2 separate regions of the Homo sapiens genome follow, and region 1 is linked to region 2. The links are contacts of gene promoters, found by promoter capture Hi-C in blood cells and fetal thymus (Javierre and others, 2016). All regions are on one chromosome and are shown on one strand. The core of a region is centred on a gene start or on the middle of the fragment in contact, and the rest is flanking DNA. Distances in the headings are between cores, read along the strand shown. Region 1 holds the start of COX7A2L (cytochrome c oxidase subunit 7A2 like). Region 2 holds the start of DYNC2LI1 (dynein cytoplasmic 2 light intermediate chain 1).

Region 1 (5,012 bases), core at 14-2,513, 1.4 Mb after region 2:
CTGTCAATTTTTTAAAAGTCAGCTTGGAAAAAATGAGAGAATTTAAAAAATTAACAACTATTTCACAGTTGGTTCCTATCTCTACTCAGTATTACCCAATTTAAATTTTATGTTGGTTTTCCATCCATTCCCCAGGCGCTTTCACAGAGCGGCCTGCCAGAGGCCATTAGCACACACCCCTCACAAATGGAGAAGCAGCGGCATTCAGATTCACCAGGAGCTGGACTGGCATTTGCACTCACTCAGTTCACCTGGTGATTGGCAAGCTTCTCTACTCTGAGTCGTGGTCACTTCCCTTCAGAATAGAATGTGGGGAACAACCTGAAGGGATCGTGATAAAAAAAGATTGTCTTTGATGTTGGATGGGATATGCAAATACGAATGAGAATAGGGTGCCTTAGTACTGTCAGAGTGTGCTGTGTTTTATTTGGGAAATGAGACAAAATCTTCCCATGATCAGCCATTCCATGTGACATCCCAACCCACACTCTGCTACTGACATTTTATCTCCCACTGAACAGCCTGGCTGTTGTAACATTTTCAGGATTCTTAATTTATGTCTTGCAGGATCTAAAATCAGATGGCAGGAACTTTAAGAAAATAACCAGTGTTGACAGGCACCTTATAAAAGAAGCTGGTACACCTTAGTGCTGCTAAAAGTTAGAGAATATTCTTTCGTTTCTTCTTCCAAAATATGTCCAGAAGTCAGTGGGATGGAGACAGTAGCTGTCCCAAATCATTTAATTTCTCTTTTCAATCTAAACTCTATGAAAGGCTTTTTCTTTCACTCAATATTTGCTAGCGCCTGGGACTCAAGAAGGCTAATGTCAATGGATCATTTTCTTTTGAGGTAGTCGAACTTTTTGTCGTAGAAAAATCTTCCTGAATCTATTCAGTATCAAAACATGGGGTGGGCCTGGCACGGTGGCTCATGCCTGTAATCCCAGCATTTTGGGAGTCTTGAGTTTGGCAGATCACTTGAGCCCAGGAGTTTGAGACTAGCCTGGGAAACATGGTGAAACCCCATCTCTACTAAAAATACAAAAAATTAGCCAGGCGTGGTGGCGCGCATCTGTGGTTCCAGCTACCCGGGAGACTGAGGTAGGAGAATCACCTCAGCCTGGGAAGTCAAGGCTGCAATGAGCCGAGATCACACCACTGTACTCCAGCCTGGGACAGAGTGAGACCCTGTTTCAAAAAGAATTTAAAAAAAAAAAAAAAAAAAAGGAAATCACTAGTCCCAAACCACTTATCCTTGGAGAAATATGGACATAAACCCAAATTGCATGTTCTTTCCATTATATCACAGTGTCTCTTTGTAAAAGTGGCAACTTTGGGCTGGCTTACATGAATTCGCTGAAACCTTTACAACATATTGGCGGTGCTGAATACTTGGGGCTCTTGAACGTAAGCCTGCAACCAGGATGCTGGTGTACACCCTCACCCTGGAATGCTCAGCCTTGATCCTCCTCTTTTCAGAATGGCTTCATATCTATTTATTTGTAACATAGTGCTTAACAGTAGGAAGTCTTGAGCCAAATGCCTAGCTCTGCCACTTATCCCTGACCTGAGCAAGTTACTTAGCTTCTCCAGGCGTCATTTTCCTGTATTCTAAAATGGAGATGATAATAGCATTTACCTTATAGGATTGTTGTGAAGATTAAATGAGTTTAGGGCAATGCTATATATAGGTTAGTATCATCCATCAATTTGCAACATGATTTCATAAGTGCATCTAGAATATGCTTGTGTAAACCTATGGTTAGATGATGAAGCTAAGAAAAGCCTGAGTCCATCCCTGGAGAGTAAGAAACTAGTATACTCCTTTTACACAGTACCTTGCACACAGCACAGGCTTAACAGACATATTTAAATTGAACTGAAGCGAATACTACCAGAACTGAAAGTGGTAGTTCCAGATCTTTCAGGCTCAAGGTCCAGATTTTACAAGTGTTTCTGATCACCCTCCCCCTACCTCATTTATCGCAAAGAGCAGAGGCCAGGAAAAGGATGAATAATCAATGACCTTAAAACTCAGGTGAGAATAAAAACCAGTTCTGAGAAACCGTGTGACATTTACATCCTGGTACCTGAGCTTTAGATCACTCTGCATGTGTATTTCCTCTGCACAAAGCCCAGGAGGCTACTTTTATATTATTGGGGCAAATCTCCCAACAGCCCTGGGTACTAAACAGCCTTCAGCAGGTGCTTCCAAATTTTCTTATTTGCTTCAACTCCCAGGTTGCCAGGGGAAGCTTGGCCGACAAGTCTATACTCCTGGGCAGACTGAGCAACAGCAGGTGGTGGCTTCTGGATAAGAGGTGCTCTAGGTCGGAAGGAAATAAATGAGACTACGATCAGTTAAAGTTCGGTAAAGCAAGAGACGCCTTCAACCCGACGACCAGACGGTGGCTCCGCAGCACAGACTCTCTCGGATGGTGGAATTCCCAACCGGCTTCGATGTAGCCCCGCCCCTACCCAGACCACGCCCACCAATCACCGCCCTCTCCCCCCCAGGCCCCGCCTGGAGCCCGCCCCTCCTAAAGCATGCTCCACCTGACTCCGACACTGCCGGGCTTAGTCCGCCGGGCTTAGTCCGTGGAGCGCTTGCGCATTTCTTGAGTTGTCGTGGCACTGCCCAAATCTGAATGGGGGAAAGAGGGAACTTCATATTTCCTACAGACTCCGCCACAGCGACTTTGCGTGCTCTCTTAGAGCTGGTTTTGCCTTTCGTGGTCCTGAGAACCCTGGCTTTTGGTTCCCCAATGCGGCTTAAGTGTGCAGGTTTTAAGTTAGGCGATCTTCGGGCAGCCCTAGTCCCAGCACCGGGTCCTTGCGCTGAGTCTCGGGACCACAGCCGGGGAGGCGGGGTCCTTCTCTGGGGCGGTCGCGTTGGCAGCGGATGCGGGAAGCCGGACTCTGGGCGTCATGTACTACAAGTTTAGTGGCTTCACGCAGAAGTTGGCAGGAGCATGGGCTTCGGAGGCCTATAGCCCGCAGGTACGAGTGGCGCCTGGCCAGCTCGGACATGAGAAGTGGCGGCCCTAGCCTCGGCGACAGGCAGTCGCGGCGTTGGAGCCAGGGGAGGCTTCTGCCCGCGGTCGAGTTCGTCTCTGTTCTCCTTGCACCTCCCGGGGCCTCTCCACACCAGCGTACGGTGGTCACTGAGGCTTCTTTTTGTGTACCTGCTCACCTGGCGGGGGCTGGCCTGGCGTGGAAGTTTGGTCTGGCTCACTGCAGGGGTCAAGGTGACCCCCGGGGTCACTTGTCTAAAAGGGATGGTTTGTGGGGGTCCCCAGTGTGACCCGAGTCAGAGGTCCGGCCTTCTCCCTCAATTCGAAGACATCTGGCTTTCGGCCTCCTTGTCGTTTGTCATCTGCCAGAGCCCCATAGGCAGCCTCACTTGAGCTCGAGATTAGAGAGCGCGGGGCTATAAAGGCGTTTAGAGAAACCATGGTGCAGGGGGTTGGGGGGCTATGATCTGGGTTGGGAAATTTAACAGGTTACTTAACACGTCCAGGGAGGGAAGTTGCATGCAGCGAGGTTACACTTTCCCGATTGTAAAATATTTGACAGATGCTCGTTGTTTGGGTTGTCTGAAAAGTATTCCATTTCACGCAGATTCTACCAATTGGAGTTTGACTCTCCAGCATGTGTTGGGGGTAAACATGAGGGATTTTAGAGCCCCAGACGTGCCTTTTCAAATCATGGCGTTTTCCGCTTTAATTGTGTGACCTTGGCCAAGTTATTTAATTTATTGTGAGCTCAGTTTCATCCAGGGCGGCGTTAGTACACATTAAATGAAGTGTGTCAAGTGACTAGCAGTTTGGGCAGGTGGTTGGTTCTGGATAAGTGTTAACTGTTCACCAGAAGCTGTCTGAGATAGTATATTCCCTCCTAATCCTCTAGAGAAGTGTGGGAAGTGTCGGTGAGATACGCAGTTAGACTGCAGTAGTGAGGGGCCCAGATGAGGTGTAAAGGATACTCCATTACTGTTGCTTCATTTCCTTTTTCTGTGGGACACTGCAGCTTGCCCAAGAGGCAGATGTTTAAGAAAGATTTCAGGTCTGGTACCGTGGCTCACGCCTGTAAATCACAGCACTTTGGAAGGCCGAGGCCGAGGGTCGCTTGAGCCCAGGAGTTTGAGATCAGCCTGGGGCAACATAGTGAGACCCTGTCTCTAAAAACAAAAACAGATGATTCTAATCTCAGATAAGAAGGGCAAGTTTTTTTTTTTTTTTTCGGGGGTTAGTGGGGGAGTTGCGGTGGGAACGGGAAGGAAGAGTTTAGGGTTTATAAATGTTGAGTTTGTGATATGTCATGCTTGGTAGCAGCTAGATTTTTGAATATGGAGTTTAATAAACTTGGGTGTCTTCAGCCCATAGGTGGTAATTTGTAGGGAAGAAAGGTTGGATTATAGTTAGAGTATAGAAACATGAGGGAAGGGTGGAGAAGGAGAATGTGTTTAAAGAATAGTCCGGATGAGAAGGGAAACCAGTGTGGTCTCACTGAAACCGAATTGGTAATGACTTGTAAGGAAGGAATAGTCAGCAGTGTTGCACTTCTTTTACAGATTATGTGAGAAAATGGCCATTTCTATCATCTGCTTCTATGAAATGTATTCTCCAGTGTATGGATATTAAATGTTACAGTTTGATGAGTTTGGACAAACCCATGTACTGTATAACCACACCTCCCTCAATATGCAAGATGTTACATCATCCCAGGAAGTTCCCTTGTACCCTCTGTCAATCCCTGCCACCTTCTTATTCTGACTTTTATCATCATAAATAGATAGTTTTGCCTTTTTTTGAACTTCATGTAAATGGAACCAGCTCTGACCCAGGCTGGAGTGCAATGGCACAGTCACAGTTCACTGTAGACTCACTCCTGAGCTCAAGTAATCGTCCTGCTTTTGCCTCTGAAAATGTTGGAATTACAGATGTGAGCCGCCGTGTCTGGCTGCTCAAAAAATATTTTTGAGGTTAGTCCGTGTTGTACGTATCAGTAGT
Region 2 (5,087 bases), core at 13-2,512:
TTCCTATGTATGTGAACTTGGGAAAACTACCTAACCTCTTTAAATCCTTCATTCCTTTATTAATTAAACAAATATTTATTGAGCACCTAATATATGCAATCCTCTGTGCTATTCCCCAGGCTCAATTGTTTCTCTATCTCTAAAAAGCCAATAAAAAAGAGTATCAGCTTTATAGGATTGTCATAATTGTTAAAATATATATGTAGTTTAGGGCATGGCCTATACAATTACAAAAATTATTGAGGGCTTGTAATTATACTATTCAAGAACCAGGAATAAGAAAAAGGGTCAAAACAGGAGTCCTTAAATGTTTGCACTAAAATTCATGCATTTATTTCACAGGTGAGCCTTCAGAACTCAGTTTCGGGCTGTTTGCTCTTCATTTACACAACATTCTTTCAAAATATGAGGATCTGCTTTCCAAATACCTAGCAGAGAGGAAAGACGGAGGTGCTGCAGTCAGCCACGACACCTGCGGAAATCGGGAAGTATAACCATAGCTTTATAACTAACCAATTATCCCTTGATGGAAAGCTGACAATTCTCCACACTATCCCAAGGAGAGAAAAAGATTTATCCTGCTCTGTGATGCACTCCCTGACCCCTCTCCCCGACGTGCTTAAGCATAAATTGTTGAGAAAAGGTTTAGGAATATCTTGTGAACAGGTAATTAAAATGAATATCATAGAATTGAACAGCTAGAATATAGTTTACAAACCCTCTCCCGTTTCCCCCCTTAAAAGTGATGTTATACTTTCCACAGTGCCTTCCAAGTTTCCCCTCGCTTATTACTGCGAACCCCCGCACCAGGAGGGGAGGCCCCTGGGGAGAGGAGGCTTTGTGGTCTAGCTCATCGCCGAATGTCCTGCTCCGGAAGTAGTCTCTGGCCTGCAAGAAACTTTTATTCAATCATTGAATGGGTGGAGTTGCTGATCTTTCCAAATCTCTCACTTTTCTACCTAGGGAACTTTCTTTTCTTTCCTGTTTGCGGCAGAATCTTTATGCTCAAGGCTGATTCCTAGGTCCCCGACCCTGCATATCCTGGTGGCAAGTAGCCACCCCCACAATCTTCCAACAGCTGGTCCCGCCTGGGCTTCCTCTCTCCAGGAATACTCTCAGTAGCCTTTCCCACGCAAGCCGGGTTCAGGGAATACCTGGGCATCGTCGACGGCCTGGCTGCCGCAAACGTCACAGGCTCGGAGTAGTGACCAGCCTAGAATCAGGCGGCGAGCTCCGCAAGGAGTCTGGGAGTGAGGCCTTCTGGGTTGCCATGGGAGCGACGTCGCGGCCGCGGTTGCGTGGGGAGACGGGCATCATGGGAAATGTAGTTTTCAGGAGTCCTTTTACATCTCATTCTCGGCCTCAAGCCTTAGGATTGCTTTTAGATCCCAAGTTAGTAACTCCTTGTTACCTCCTAGAACGAGATGATAAGGGGTTACAAACCTGGGATCTAAAAGCAATTTTCTTTTATTTTAAAATTTTTTTACTGGGTGTCAACTATATGCCAAGGGTCTCTGCTCTCTCTCTCTCTCATCTTTCACTTTTTTCTTCCCAATCGCCATGATTTAGGAATAGAGGGTGTAACAATCTCTTGAGCTGTTTTCTGCTAATTTACTAGAAGCAAGGAATATTCGGACTTTAAAATTTAAAATAAGGCACGTAATTTTAATATTTTCCAACTTTCTAGATGTTTAGTTGTTTCAAGTTTTATTCAATAGCACATTGTGTATTTATTAATAAATTAATGAAGCAAGTGCATCTCCTACATACTTCATTTACTTTGTGAATGTAGATTATTTTCTTTTGGAACTTTGTGGTCTCTTTATAGATCTGCAGGAGTGTCCAAATAAATAACGAGCATTGAAATAAATAACAATCATTGAATATGCAAGGCCCTATGCTACACAGAATAAGGAATAAAGAGATGAGTAAGAAAAGATCGCTGCCCTTAAGAAAGACACACACTCAGCTAATTATAAGCACCTAAGGAAGTGAGTGATCTAAACTATTGTATAGAGGTACAAAAATTGCATGAGGGCAAGTGACCAATTATGCCTGAAGGAGATGGTGAAACCATGGCACTGATAGTATTTGGTCTGTATTGAATGCTGAGTAGACTCAGGCTTTCTAGCCTAAGATGCCCTGAATATTTGAAGGAGATACCCTCCCTCCAGTCCTCTACTATTCGGCTTGATTTCTATGGTGCGATGTTCAAGTACATGGGCTTTGGCGTGAGATGGACCTAGGTTCAAGTTCTGACTTGGCCACGCTGGCTAAGTTGTCACATTGCCACATCGGGTAAATCACTGAATTTCTGATCCTGTAAAGCGGGAAAGATTGTGAATCTTAAATGAGATAAATGTAGGTAAAACATAACTTACGTGGGTGTCTGACACATTATAACTGCTTAATGCTTGTTATTATTGTGTGATAAGCTGCTGGTCAGCAACTTCGAACAAAGAAACACAAGGAACACATTCCTGGAAACAAGGCTGATGGTTGATAAAAGGGTGTTTATTTCAAATAAAGTCATTGGGAACAAAATCCTCCCAACACCTAGGTATATTTTGGAGACGTAAAGAACACTAAGCTGCACATAGGAAGGGAATTAATGGGAGTAGAGCTCACCGAAGAAAGGATGATTTTTCAAAGGAGGCTTATACATCTGTCATTGAATCAACAGCTATAGCCTGGTGCTAAGCCAGACTTTAAGCTCACAAACTGATATGGGACAGATTGTAATGAATTGTAATGATTTGGGTTCTAGAACTTCAGAATACTTTTGCATGCTAGTTAGGAAGGCCTGTTGATATTGATAGCAATAACGACAGCTAACATTTTTGCCAAGTGCTTGCTATGTACTGGGCACAATACTCAGTACGAGTACTTCAAAAGTACACTTGTTTGAATAACGGGGAGAGGTGTTTGAAGGAGGGAGCTTGGTAACCAGGAAAGTGAAGGTGATCCGGCTGGGCCCTGATCAGCAGCATTGATTCAGGGTTGATTCAGTTGATCTGACTGAGCAGGTGAGTTCCCCTTTCTTCCCTCATTCCTCTTGAGGCCTTCATACTTGGGCAAAGAAAGTGACTTTCCTGGGTAGATGAAGATTGTTCTTAAGGTAAGAATGGAAGGAGAAGGAGACAATTTTATGCTGCTTTCTGGATGGAATGAGCAACAGTGCAGAAGGGTAAAGGCGTGTGCAGGATGTATTTGGGAAACTGAATAGTTTGGGTTGCGATCATATAAAGTGCCTGGTGGAGCTACAGTGGAAGAGCAAACTGGGCAGGTAGATGGGGCTACTGTGAAGGATGCTGTAGTCTAGACTTTACTGTGTTGGTTATGAGAAACCAAATAGGGTTTAAAAATAGGAGTGTGCCATGATTAGACATGAATTTCAGTGAGATAATTTTTTGCAGTTGTGTGAAGGGTGGTTTGGCATCTAGAAGACCATGCGGAGGCTATTAACAATAGCTAGGAAAGTGACAGGCAGAGTTTTAAAATTTTTTCCCTTGTTTTCAAAGTTATATAAGCTAATTGTAGGGGAAAAAACGTATGCACAGAAAATTAAGAGGGTAAAATAAGCATAAGCCAGAAGTAGTAACTATTAGGTATTTTGGAAATACATTTGATATGTTTCATTCTAATCTTTTTTCTTACAAAGTTGAGATTAATTGTAAAGTTAATTAATGTCCTGATTTTAACATGTATTTCCCCATATCAAATTTTAAAAATGCACCATATCAAATTTTAAAACTGCATCATAAACATAACTTTGATGGTTGCAGAATATTTCACTGCATAGATTTTTCGTAATGTACTTAAGCATTCTCCTAATGTTGAGTACATTTGGGGTGGTTCAGAGTGAACACCTAACATGAGCTGGGTTAATCACAGTCCTTCCCTGAAATTTTTCAAACTAGAATTGGGAAAAGTAAGTCACTCTACCTCTAGAGGAAATTAGCATATTTTATGCTAAATGAATTATTTTGTAGTTAGTGAGCACACATCAGACACACATCAATATGAAGGGAAAGTGCTGGCATATGTCTCATGGTTCTAATTGTCCCTAAGGCTTGCCTGTGTCCTCACCTTTCTTATGGCTTGGTTGTTCAGCTTGCTCTTTGATTATATGAGACATCCTAATATCCTTGTAATACAATTTCTCATTTTTGTCTAAGCTAGTTCAAGTTGAATTTTGGAATTTACAGCAAAAAGAGTTCTATCTAATACAATTACTAGACAGTAGAAAGTAAGACGTTGGTAAAAGGGAGAAAAGTCAATGTTTCCTTCTTGATGGATGAACTGGTGATCCTCTTAACCAATTTTAAGGGGCACAGAGCAGGAGAAGCAGGTTTAGAGGACATGGTGAGTTTGAGATATCGTCCAGCAGACAGTTGGACCATTTGGGGTCTGCTGGACTTGGCAGTTAAGTGGTCAGTGATAACCTCATGTGAAGATGTTTCGATAGAATAGTCAGTACATGAAAGCAGTGTTGATGATACCCTATCCCTGAGTGGAACATCTTATAATCTGTACATGATCCAAAACCCAAGAACTCTCCACAAGCTTTCCTAAGGTTACACTTTCTGTAAACTTTTCTCTCATAAAAGGCAACTCTTATTGGGTTTGATAGCATTTTCCAGAAACTCAAGAAGTTAATAACATCTAAGCCATTTCCTCTGGTATCACCCAATATTCAGTTCCTAGGAGCTCCTGGGAATTCATTAGAGCCACATAGTGAGAGAGGGAATTAGCCTTCTTTTGCCACTGCCACTGCTAAAGAAGAGTTGTTTGATTTTCATAAAACCACAGTATAACCTAGCAGCACGTTCAGAAAGAGCGGCCCTTCCCCTCCCACCCCCACTCTGTTTATTAGAAAATTATGTTGGCAGGCCGGGCACGGTGGCTAACGCCTGTAATCCCAGCACTTTGGGAGGACAAGGCGGGCAGATCATCTGAGATCAGGAGTTCAAGACCAGCCTGACCAACATGGTGAAACCCCGTCTCTACTAAAAATACAAAAAATTAGCCGGGCGTGGTGGCAGGCGCCTGTAGTCCCAGCTACTGCAGAGGCTGAGGCGGGAGAA

Evidence for each region. Contacts are between HindIII fragments. The CHiCAGO score rates a contact against its expected background, and 5 or more counts as called.
Region 1: a contact is called between a fragment that was not itself captured here and the fragment with the promoter of DYNC2LI1 in region 2, in 1 of 17 cell types (monocytes). The highest score is 8.0, in monocytes.

Annotation. Positions count from the first base shown.
Region 1 is chr2:42,359,078-42,364,089 of GRCh38, reverse strand. It overlaps COX7A2L (cytochrome c oxidase subunit 7A2 like), which reads left to right and starts at 2,873. Exons shown (of 3, transcript NM_004718.4): 1 at 2,873-3,000. The coding sequence starts at 2,929. RefSeq lists enhancers at 2,133-2,222, 2,783-2,842, 2,212-2,955, 2,863-3,182, 2,956-3,700 and 1 more and a silencer at 2,413-2,582. The HindIII fragment of the contact is 1,989 bases long and covers 269-2,257 here.
Region 2 is chr2:43,770,214-43,775,300 of GRCh38, reverse strand. DYNC2LI1 (dynein cytoplasmic 2 light intermediate chain 1) reads right to left here and starts at 1,262. Exons shown (of 13, transcript NM_016008.4): 1 at 1,155-1,262. The coding sequence starts at 1,162. It overlaps LOC105374571 (a long non-coding RNA gene), which reads right to left and starts at 1,148. Exons shown (of 2, transcript XR_940033.2): 1 at 755-1,148; 2 at 309-428. It also overlaps the pseudogene RN7SKP66. RefSeq lists an enhancer at 1,327-1,376. The HindIII fragment of the contact is 6,929 bases long and covers 1-4,568 here.